Regions from separate parts of the Homo sapiens genome. Here regions 1 and 2 are each linked to region 3. Evidence: promoter capture Hi-C in 16 types of primary human blood cells and fetal thymus (Javierre and others, 2016). All regions are on one chromosome and are shown on one strand. Each heading gives the region's core, a stretch centred on a gene start or on the middle of the fragment in contact. The rest is flanking DNA. Distances are from core to core; before and after follow the strand shown. Region 1 overlaps LRMDA (leucine rich melanocyte differentiation associated). Region 2 holds the start of LOC124902462 (a long non-coding RNA gene). Region 3 holds the start of LRMDA (leucine rich melanocyte differentiation associated).

Region 1 (3,415 bases), core at 70-2,569, 620 kb after region 3:
CTCTTGCTAGTTTCTCCCTCTGGTTAGTTTCCTTCTCTTGCTAGTTTCCCCCTCTCTTGTTAGTTTCCCCTCTCTTGGTAGTTTCCCCCTCTGGTTAGTTTCCTCCTCTTGCTAGTTTCCCCCTCTTTTGCTAGTTTCCCTCTCTTGCTAGTTTCACCTCTTCTGCTTGTACTCTGCTTCTCATTGTCTCTGGCTGCTCTCACCTAGGGTATAGCATTTGGCCTTGCATATGATGGTGGCAGAGCATGTGTACAAAGAATGCTTGAAGGAACTTAGTTTGGAGAATAAAAGATTTAAGGAAGACATGTGAGCTTCAAATATCTGAAGCTTCATCATGTGGAAGAGAAGAAGCCTTATTCTTTGTGACCCCAAGCAGTTAAATTGGGTCACTGAGTAGAGGTTAGAGAAAGATTCAATTCCAGGGGAAAGGAAAACTGTTATGGTTGTCAGAAATGGAATGTGCTATGTCGTGGTGATTGCTTGGCAAATATTTTAGGGACCCAATTCCGACATTGGTTGGATTTTGAATTCATTCTTTTGTGACAAGTTGAAATGAAGTATGAGGAAATCTGTGTAACAGCCCAAGGTTAGATAACATCCTCACAGAGCAAGAACATCCCTTTTCTTTGATTTTACCTTCTCCTAGGTTCAAGTGGACCCCACTTCTGGGAACTGTAATCTGAGTCTTTCACGCTTGCATATGGCATTTCTTCTACCCTTGTATGTTTTGTTCCTGTAGCTCTGCTGCCATTCCCTGGCTGGGACCCCCTTTTATCTGCCAACTTGGTTAACCCTCTCTCATATGTCTCTCGAAGTCACGGCCTAACCAGGCATGCCTATCTAACCATCACCTTACCTAGGCTCAGCTTGTCTGTATGTGGCTTAAGCCAGGAGTTAGTATGGGGACTAAGTTGTCATTAAACCCTTTCCAGTACCTGTGATTCTGTGAATCTATGGCTCTTGCTTTATTTGGTTTGGCCATGATTGGACAGTGGGTCCCACTGGAAGATGGCTCCTGGAATAATCTCCCCCATCATGCCCCCCTCTGACTTTTCTCTTTCATTCTCTAATTCCCTCACTAACAGAGAAAGAATATATTTTAATGAGGCCTTCTGAAATAATTTCTGGTTTTCTTTTTCTGGTTTTTTTGTTTTGTTTTTTTCTTTTGAGACAGAGTCTCGCTCTGTCACCTGGGGGCATGATCTCTACTCACTGCAACCTCCACCTCCCAGGTTCAAGCGATTCTCCTGCCTCAGCTTCCCAAGTAGCTGGGATTACAGGCTCCTGCCATCATGCCCAGCTAATTTTTGTATTTTTAGTAGAGACGGGTTTCACCATGTTGGCCAGGCTGGTCTCAAACTCCTGACCTCAAATGATCTGCCTACCAGGGCCTCCCAACGTACTGGAATTACAGGTGTGGGCCACCATGCCCAGCCCTTGTTTTCATTACTAGAAACGAATTAAGTTTTATGGTTTTGCATATTGTAAAAATATTTTACTCTATGGAATCTTCCCTTTTGGTGTGTTTTAGAAACAGAACTATAGAGGAAAGAAAAATATGATGGGACAATCAAGTTTATTCATTCTTCCTCAGATGATCTGGACTTAGTCTTACCTGCCTAGCGAAAGTTGGGCTGTGTTCCCAACAGTGGGAGTGAAAAAGTAGCAATACCGTATACCCACAGCTGAATTGATTTCAGCCCCCACCCTGAGGTCTCACAGGAGCAGACTGGACTCATCAGCGCCTGTCAGTCATGGCCTATGCTCATTGCTAAGCCTTTTGTCTTACTGGACCAAGATTCTTAACCTTTGTCACATCACTGATTTGGAGAACCTGCTGGATCACTTGGCAGAAGTGACACCAGCTCTGGAGTACCTCAGTCTGCTGGGCAACGTGGCCTGTCCCAACGAGCTGGTCAGCTTGGAAAAGGATGAGGAAGACTACAAGAGATACAGGTGAGTGTCCAGGGGTTGGACCATGGTGGGAAAAGGGAAAAAGAGAAACTTTAGGGGATGATATTATACTCTGGGGTGCATAGTAGATGTTTGGTACATATCAGTGGGTTTCCCATGACAATGTTAAACTTTTACCTTTTGGTAACCTATAGCCATTGTCTCTCTTGGTTGAGGTCACAAAAGCTAAGAAAGATGAAAAGTTATTGCCTTTTCTACTTTTTTTGTGAAGTGCCAGATATTAAGTATTTTAGGTTTTCCAAGTTACATGGACTTGTCACAACTACTCAGCCCTGCTTTCATAATGCAGAAGTAGTCATACATAATTTGTGAACAAATGGGCATGGCTTTGTTCCAGTAAAGCTTTATTTACAAAACAGATGGCAGGCCAGATTTCACCCATGGGCTGTAACTTGCTGACCCCTGCTCTGTGTTGTAAGATCTTTCTGTGGTCTGTCTCAGAGTCATCTTGAAGAGAGAGATGACTTCCCACCAAAATTTAGGGAGCTCATAGACAATCTCAAGAGGAAGTCCCACAGGCCCATACCTCTCCACCATAGAGCTATGCCGTGGCGCCCACCAGCCATGCGCTTTGATGGGCTCCAAGTAGAAATGCTTTTCGTTCTTCTCTCTACTTCTCAACCATGTGCTTTAAAAGCCCTGATCCAAAGTCATTTAGAGAGTCTTTTTGGTCTTACCCATTTTACCAAAGTCACCTAATTTTCCTTCTTCATTTAAAATTGTCTGTGTTCTCATTGTTGATTGTTGTTTTGTAAATGCTTTAATGACCTTTTCATGGACCTCTCTCTCCATTATGACATAAGCTCTCATTAAACACCCCACCTGAATCACTCTTAAAAATAACTTAATAAATTTTGTATATGTATATATGCATATATACATATATGTCTGTGTCTATATGTATATGTATGTGTACACACACATTCATGCACTTGTTCATTTATTCATTCATTCATGGGGCCAAGAAGCTATGTGTGAAGCCAACCATGTAGGCAAGTTTTTGTAATTTTTTTCTAGAATGAGAGAGGTAGGGAGGGATTGGTCTCAAGTACAGGGCTTATGAGGTTGCAAAAGGAAAAGAAGAGCTAAGAAAAATTTTTTTCTATTCTTTTTTTGGTGTATCATCAGCTCTCAAATAATTACTATTTGTTTTTTCTATTGTAACTGGTCGCATTAGCAAAAGTACTAAGACCAAGGTATGTGGGGTCAGATCAGAAGATCTGATGTGGAGTCCGGCTTTCCCAGTGGGGCTTTTAAAATAGGAGGACAGTCTATATCAGTATTCCATAATCAAGGATCTACCTCTGAGTCATCCAAGGTATTCTGATGCAGTTGGTGGCAATTACAACACAACAGTCCATAGGTGTTTCTGATGTCCAGTTGGCTTTAGAATTCGGAGACACTCAGCTCCCAACAAGTTCAATTTCTTCCTTTACTGTCT
Region 2 (3,169 bases), core at 301-2,800, 870 kb after region 3:
GACTGATAAGTTGTAGGCCGATGCTTAGCAACAGCATTCCTGTGCTTTAAGTAGCTGCAAGCCCCTTGCTGAACTCTTTGATGTGACTGTCAGGGCAGATTTATTTTGTTTTAGCACATTGTCTACTTGTCCAGATGTATCAGGAGATAAAAAGGAGTCATGTTTACACTCCTCCCTTTTTTTTTTTTTTTTTTGGAGATGTAATTAAATCGTGTTTTTGATGAGTCTTGGGGAGCTCCAGTTGAAGAAAACAGGAATTGGCTGGAGTAAAGGGAAGAATGAAAACTTGCTTGGCAGAATGAACACCTGACTGCGTCAAAAAATAAAGCATAAGTACCAGCTGGCGTGGTTCTGTGAAGCTGGAGGTTTTGTTCTGAGTCTTTTGTTCCACTTCTGTGGAAGTCCAACCAAGAAGAAGGGAGAGGTGCCCGTCCAGCGCTCACTTGCTGGGCACTATCTGTGAAACCTCTAGCTCTCAGTGATCTCTTCTTTCTTACTGCACACAGGCGCGCACATGAGGCCTTAACTCCCTTCTTCCACTATCATTTAGTGGGTAGTACATCTGTGATAGATAGTTGTCAATCTAAGCTAATAAAATTGTTGAACTCCAGTGATCTTGAATAAACAAATCTTCACCGAGCTGGATGAGTTGAATTCCCTGGGAATGGGATTGCCACTCTTTTTTTTTTTTTTTGGTGATCAGTTTTTTAATGTGCACATTTAGTAACACCATTCTGAGTTCTATTAATGACCTGCAGTGAGCAGTGACAAGCAGGAATATGACATTCAGTACTGCTGAGGACCTGCCAGGCAGCGGCTAACACGCTCGCTTTCATCTGCAGCTCGGGAGACACTCTATTTGCATCCTAAATAGGTTACACTACAGCACCCCCTTCTGCCGACTGAGCTGTGTGACAAGAAGGCCTCACTACAACTCAGTTTTCTCCCCTGATGACAGCCCTGAAGGCCCTTTCACGGCTTTCTCTAACCTTTCTAGCCTTCCCCTTTGGTCCCTGGAGGAGCACAACAGTGACTAATGGTGTGCGTACCTGCACTCCTGGGGGCTTCATTTGGATTATACTTTTAATTACTCATTCATCAGAGGAAAGGAACAAAAACCATCCATTGAAGGAGACAGAAAGATGGGTATAACAAAAAGAAAGCTGAGCCAAGCAGGTGCTACCTTAGATCACTCCTGGCTGGGGTCCCTCCTGCCAGATCCCAAATCCCAGACAGACGCCACTGAATGCATCTTAGAAACTACAGGCTTGGTTTTGTGTTTCCCATTTGTAGCCCAGTCTGAAGTACAGGAAGGAGGTTTTCCTTTGTTTGTTCTAAACACCTTTTGGATGACTCCATTTGGCAGAAGCGCACCTTAAACTTGTAGTCCTTTCACATACGAGAAATCAACTGGGCTCTGCTAGAAAGGGGTGTCCACATGGGGAATTTTGGAGGGAGGAACTATGCATGCCACCTGTCCAACACTGAGAAGCCCTGTTTGCAGGGGTTGGGGTATGGGGTAGAGAGCTCCCATCAGAGGACAGTGCAGAGGCTGACTTAGCCTGGGAAGATGTGGACTTATTGTTATCCTCCACCCTTGGAGGCCAGGGAATGCTATTTGTTCAATATTTTAAGTTCATTTAATTTACCATTTAGTATTTATCGAGAAGATACTATGGGCCACCCAGGTGGAGTAGGGCGCTGCCCTCAAGGAGCAAAGTGTCTAGTAGGGGGACAACTCAGGCAAAGCATGTTGGGAGGGAGTTAGGAAGGAAGACTAGGCTTTGCAAAGATCTCCAGCAGGATGGGGCACAGTGCCCTGCGGGAGCAGGAGAACACCACGTGATGACTCTCAGGGTGAGGAGTGAAGGCAAAAGAGAGGCTGAGAAGGCAGGGGCTGGGGCAGAGGGCCTTCTAGGAAATGGATGGTGCTCTTTGCTTACCCCAAGAGCAAGGTGAATCACTACGTTTTTAAGCAGAGAGGCCCCAGTTTCCTTGTGAATCTTCGTGGAGTCCTTTGAGCTCTGTAACCATCTGGGTTACAGGTCTTCTTTGTGTGTCTCACTACCATGCCTTACCCTTCTGTAATCTGTCTGTGCAAGTGCACTTGCAGGATAAACCCAGGAGCTGGAGAAAGCAGAGGAGTTTCTGTGGCCGTGTTTACCTTTCAAAACCTAGGAATCCTGGATATGGAATAAGAGAAAAGAGGGCTTGTAGCATGTGTGGGCCCTTTCTTGGGCCCTTTCTATCTTATAATTGGTACAAAAGACAGTAGATGGTAGAACGGAGTCAGGAAAAATGTTGGAAAATGTTTTAATGGATGAAAACTCATTTGGAAAGTAACCTCAAAACATCTTTTTTCTTTTTCTTTTCTCCCTCCCTTCCTCTTTCTTTCTTTCATGGTCAGGACATTGGACTGTCCTGAGCAAAACATATACCTAGAATGGGATCTCCCACCCAGGGTAGGTTCATGCATACTTTGTCAGTGACTGAGTCCCTCTAGACCACAATGTGTTTGAGAGTTGAAGACTAAGATGGGCACAGGGTAGTGTTTCTTTAGAAAATAAACTTAAATTTTGCATTTCCTTTGGCTTCAGGGAGAATAAGGCTGCTAGAATGGTTAGAAATATTGCACAGGACATCAGACTTACTGATTATGATACTTGATTAGTCATTTTTCTTGTAGTAATCATATATTTGGGTCTGGAATCTCTCAAGGAAATAGCTTCACACATATGTATACGTTTAGATGAATGAAACTTTTGATGTTAACAGTTATTGATAGTATAAAGCAAATAAAAAAGGCCTCTTTCAAGAACGGCTCTGTGAATAATTTACAGAAAATTTTGAAAAAAGAAAATAAAGGAGAAAAGATTTTTGGGGGTTATTTCTCAAATGACTTTCCATCTATTAAACTATTTTCCACCATTTCCCTTGGCTCCAATCTACTATATTAACTATATTTTATAATAAACACATTAGTATTGTGAAAATTAATATTTAATAATGTAGAGTCCTTATCTAGAAAAGTTAAGTTCTTATCTAGAAAGGTACACAGGCTGAGGATTAGTATTAACTTTACAAAGAAAGATTGGGTTTGGAACTCAGAGTTTTTTTATATCCTTATCCTCTCCTCTGCAATCAACACATACACACATACTTTTGCATA
Region 3 (3,321 bases), core at 28-2,527:
GGACCAGAGAGGGCGCGTCCAGCAGAGAAGGAGGGAGAAGGCGGGGGAGCTGGTCCTTGGGGCAACAGGCCTGGGAAGGTTCCCTTTGATCCCCTTATCTCTGGAGGGTAAGCTTTCTTTTTTGGCCTGCAGGACCTTTTGTTGCAGCATTTCCTGGAATCCCCCAAAGTAAACACAGTCAAGACTGCATTCTTACTGCTCTACTCTTCTGAGCCTGCTCCTCCCAGCTGAGAGAGGGGCAGGAAGGTCAACCCTCCGAGATCAACACTGCTCATCAAAATGCTGACAAGGGCCCACCTAACAATGTGTTAGGACCGGGGCTGTCTGAGAGACGATGCCAGTTAAGGCTGGGCTGGCTCTTAGCTGCAGCAAGAGTGGAAGATGACAACCAGTTGATATCTGGTAGCTCTGTGCATCCTGGACTTGGAGGCAAGAATAGGCAAGGAGAAAATCTGGATCCTTCCAGAGAATTTCAGAGAAAAACAGGCATGGGTTTAGGGAGTTACCTGCCCACTGGGCCTACTTTCATCCAGACAGGAGGCCCGTGGCCAGCTCTTCCAGGTGGGGATGGGGTGGGTGGGGAACAGCGAATAACCCCACTGATAACTTCAAGCCTCACAAATCTCTTGCCCTCTGAGGAGCAGGAGAAGAGAAGCCTGAAATTTGGGGTCACCAGCCAATTATCCTTCCCCAGGGTTTATTATTGTCAACTCTTAGAGGCCACAGGGAAAGGGTGGGGTGGTCTTCACCAAGCCAGCGTTTTATTTATAGGGAAATTCAACCCCCCCAATCCCCCTCCCCTCCTACAAATGGAAACTGGGCCGCACCAGGAGTCCTTCAACCTTCTAACTTTCCCTCTCCCCAGCTTTGATGAGGAGGGGCGTTCAGCCAAGAGGCCCCTCCTCGCTGCAGTTGAGGTCCATTATGTAACCCAGCTTGCGAAATGCAGGAAAGGCCCGGCTGGCTACAGCCCGGCTAACGGCTCAGAAAGGGCGCCCCTGATAGGAATACCCCCACCTCAGGCGTGGCCCAGACAAACGCGATAAAGCTGTGGGCATGGAGTTTTGGGCATTGGGACATCCGGGGGAGGGAGGGGCGCGGGCAGTCGGGGTCAGGCCGCCGTCGGGGCGCGGGGCGCTGCGGGCCACCTGTTGCAGCGGGCGGCCAGGGCTCACCTGCGCGGAGACCGGGCCGAGGGGCGGCGGCGGCGAGCGGCGGAGCTGAGGTCCCCGAGGCTAGCCCGCGCCTCCGGCTTCCGCCGGGTCAGCTGACTGCCCAGTGCGGAACTGTGCGCCCGCCGCGCTCCCCTGCCGCGCTCCCCGCTGCTGCCGCCGCGCCCCCGCGCTCCGTCCCGCGCGCCCGCAGCGTCCTGGCCGCCATGGCCGGGCTCGTGGTGCGTGGAACTCAAGTAAGTCCCGGCCAGCCCCGCCTCCGCCCGGGGCGCAGTCCGCGTGGGGAGGGACAGCGGGGCACAGAGGCTCCCCAGGGCCTAGACACCCCTGTCCCCGCCTCAGGGGGCTGCGTCTGCAGGGGGTGAGCTTCAGGTGCTCAGGCTCGCCCTAGTGGGGCTAGGACAGACCTCGTTTCGGGCCTGGCACACCCCCTTGATGTGCGGGAAGAACACCCGCAAGGTCTCCCGTTCTCCCCACTTCCTTCTGCCCTTAGCGCCTCACTGAGCAGGCCCAGCGGACACAGTGCTGACGGCCCCCGCTGCTTTTGGGGGCCCACAGAAAATGTTCCAATTTCATAATCTGAATTTTAAAAACTTTTGGTCAAAGAATCCATTTTGATAAATCACATTGATATAGTCATCTTTATACCAATGCAGTTGTAATATACAAATTTACTTATTTGTAAATGGAGGAAGGGGTTTATGAAGGCAAAAGTGTCTAGGGTACCCAAAGTCCCAGCACATCCCTGGAGATGAGGGTGCTGGTGGGCCCTGCGCTGAATGGGCTACGCCATAGCCAAAGGCTGATGGAAGGCCACCGACCTCCAGTTCTCTTTCCACACTCGATTTCTTGAACAGGAGTCTGTGATGAATGGCAACACGCCAGTTTCAATCCTGGGTGCCAGACACCCAGTCTCACATGCTTTGAGCTCTGTAGTGAAGCCTCAGGTGTTCATTGTTGGAGGGATGAACCCAGCCACTCTGGGACCAGGTGTCTTTCTTACCTGCTGGAAAAGCCAGTTCTCTGTCTTTAACCTCTTCTCTGCTCTGATGAAGCCAGAGCCCTCTTACTTCCCACCTTTCCCTGCACACCCTGGAGAAATAGTTCTGAGTTTTTGAAGCTCTCCTCTTGGATTGCCTAAGGCAGGTAGTGTCAGGCACAATTGGATTTTGAGATTACTTTGGGCTGAAGGGAATGATTCCTCCTTAGAGGAGATTCTAGGGGTTTTTACAGCTCCTACAGATGCAGTGAGGGCCAACTGTGCAGCCCATTAAACTAGCCGCTGCCTGTTTTCTTTTTTTCCAGAGTCCTGTCGTTTCATCAGGTACACATGTTTATTGAGTGCCTACTGTATGCCAGGCACCATGCCAGGTGTTGTTGGAAATTAGCCTTTCCTTTGTCTCTGTGCACCCCCCATTTAACAGTTTTGTTGCTCAGGAATGCTGGCTCTGTCCCTTGACCCACAGCCTGGGAGGAGAGAGCTGGAGAAAGACCAGAGTTCAGAAGTGAGTTAACAGCCTGCGGAGAGGCTAAAAATGACGGGTCTTGTTCAGCCATCGGGGAAAGGGGCTTTTTTTTTCTGGGAGTTAATTTACTGCCTGGAGGGAGGGGCTGGACAAGAGGGTCTTTTCCTTCTCTTGGAGTATCTACCTAAGAAGGAGGGTTCCCTGCCCCCCAGACCCTAGGTCTCTCTGCGTTTCAGATTTGGTGTTCTCCCGGTGTACCTTGCTACAAGTTCATGGGGCTGAGCACTTTCCTGTGCTTCCTTTCCCTTTGCTCTTCCTCCGTTTCCTAGATTCGATTTTTCCTGCAGCCCCTGTTCTTAGCCTACTCCAAACAGCCCAAGGGCATTCATGGAAGTGTGGGTGAGGCATTTTAGGCCCTTGGGGACTGTTTTATTAGACCGAGTTGCCTGGGGAGGAGCTAAGAAGGTAGGCTGGGAAAATGCCCCTGGAGTCTTAGTGCCCCATTTCCTAAACTGCCCAGGTTAGTGGATTTGAGTGTCTGGCCCCGGAGGTGGTTTTTTTGTTTGTTTGTTTGTTTGTTTGTTTTTTCTACATTCTGCTCCCAGCGATTTCTAATGGCGGCCGCTTTAAGAGGTAGCACCTTGGATGTGGGTAGCATGGAACAGTACTTGTCAGACTTTAGT

Evidence for each region. The method cuts DNA at HindIII sites, captures the fragments that hold promoters and counts their contacts. A CHiCAGO score of 5 or more calls a contact.
Region 1: a fragment that was not itself captured here is called in contact with the fragment with the promoter of LRMDA in region 3 in 1 of 17 cell types (erythroblasts); the score reaches 5.5 in erythroblasts.
Region 2: a contact is called between a fragment that was not itself captured here and the fragment with the promoter of LRMDA in region 3, in 1 of 17 cell types (M0 macrophages). The highest score is 5.6, in M0 macrophages.

The regions. Positions count from the first base shown.
Region 1 is chr10:76,045,348-76,048,762 of GRCh38, forward strand. LRMDA (leucine rich melanocyte differentiation associated) reads left to right here. Exons shown (of 7, transcript NM_001305581.2): 4 at 1,817-1,956. Among named protein-coding and RNA genes, the nearest start is that of MIR606, 490 kb to the left of the region's middle. The HindIII fragment of the contact is 1,989 bases long and covers 326-2,314 here.
Region 2 is chr10:76,303,036-76,306,204 of GRCh38, forward strand. The region is part of intron 5 of LRMDA (leucine rich melanocyte differentiation associated); the gene reads left to right. LOC124902462 (a long non-coding RNA gene) reads right to left here and starts at 1,981. Exons shown (of 3, transcript XR_007062203.1): 1 at 1,944-1,981. RefSeq lists a silencer at 696-990. The HindIII fragment of the contact is 3,309 bases long and covers 1-3,169 here.
Region 3 is chr10:75,430,347-75,433,667 of GRCh38, forward strand. LRMDA (leucine rich melanocyte differentiation associated) reads left to right here and starts at 1,278. Exons shown (of 7, transcript NM_001305581.2): 1 at 1,278-1,408. The coding sequence starts at 1,379. LOC107984293 (a long non-coding RNA gene) reads right to left here and starts at 1,264. Exons shown (of 2, transcript XR_001747703.2): 1 at 1,176-1,264. RefSeq lists enhancers at 1,086-1,586, 1,587-2,087 and a silencer at 1,228-1,327. The HindIII fragment of the contact is 4,872 bases long and covers 111-3,321 here.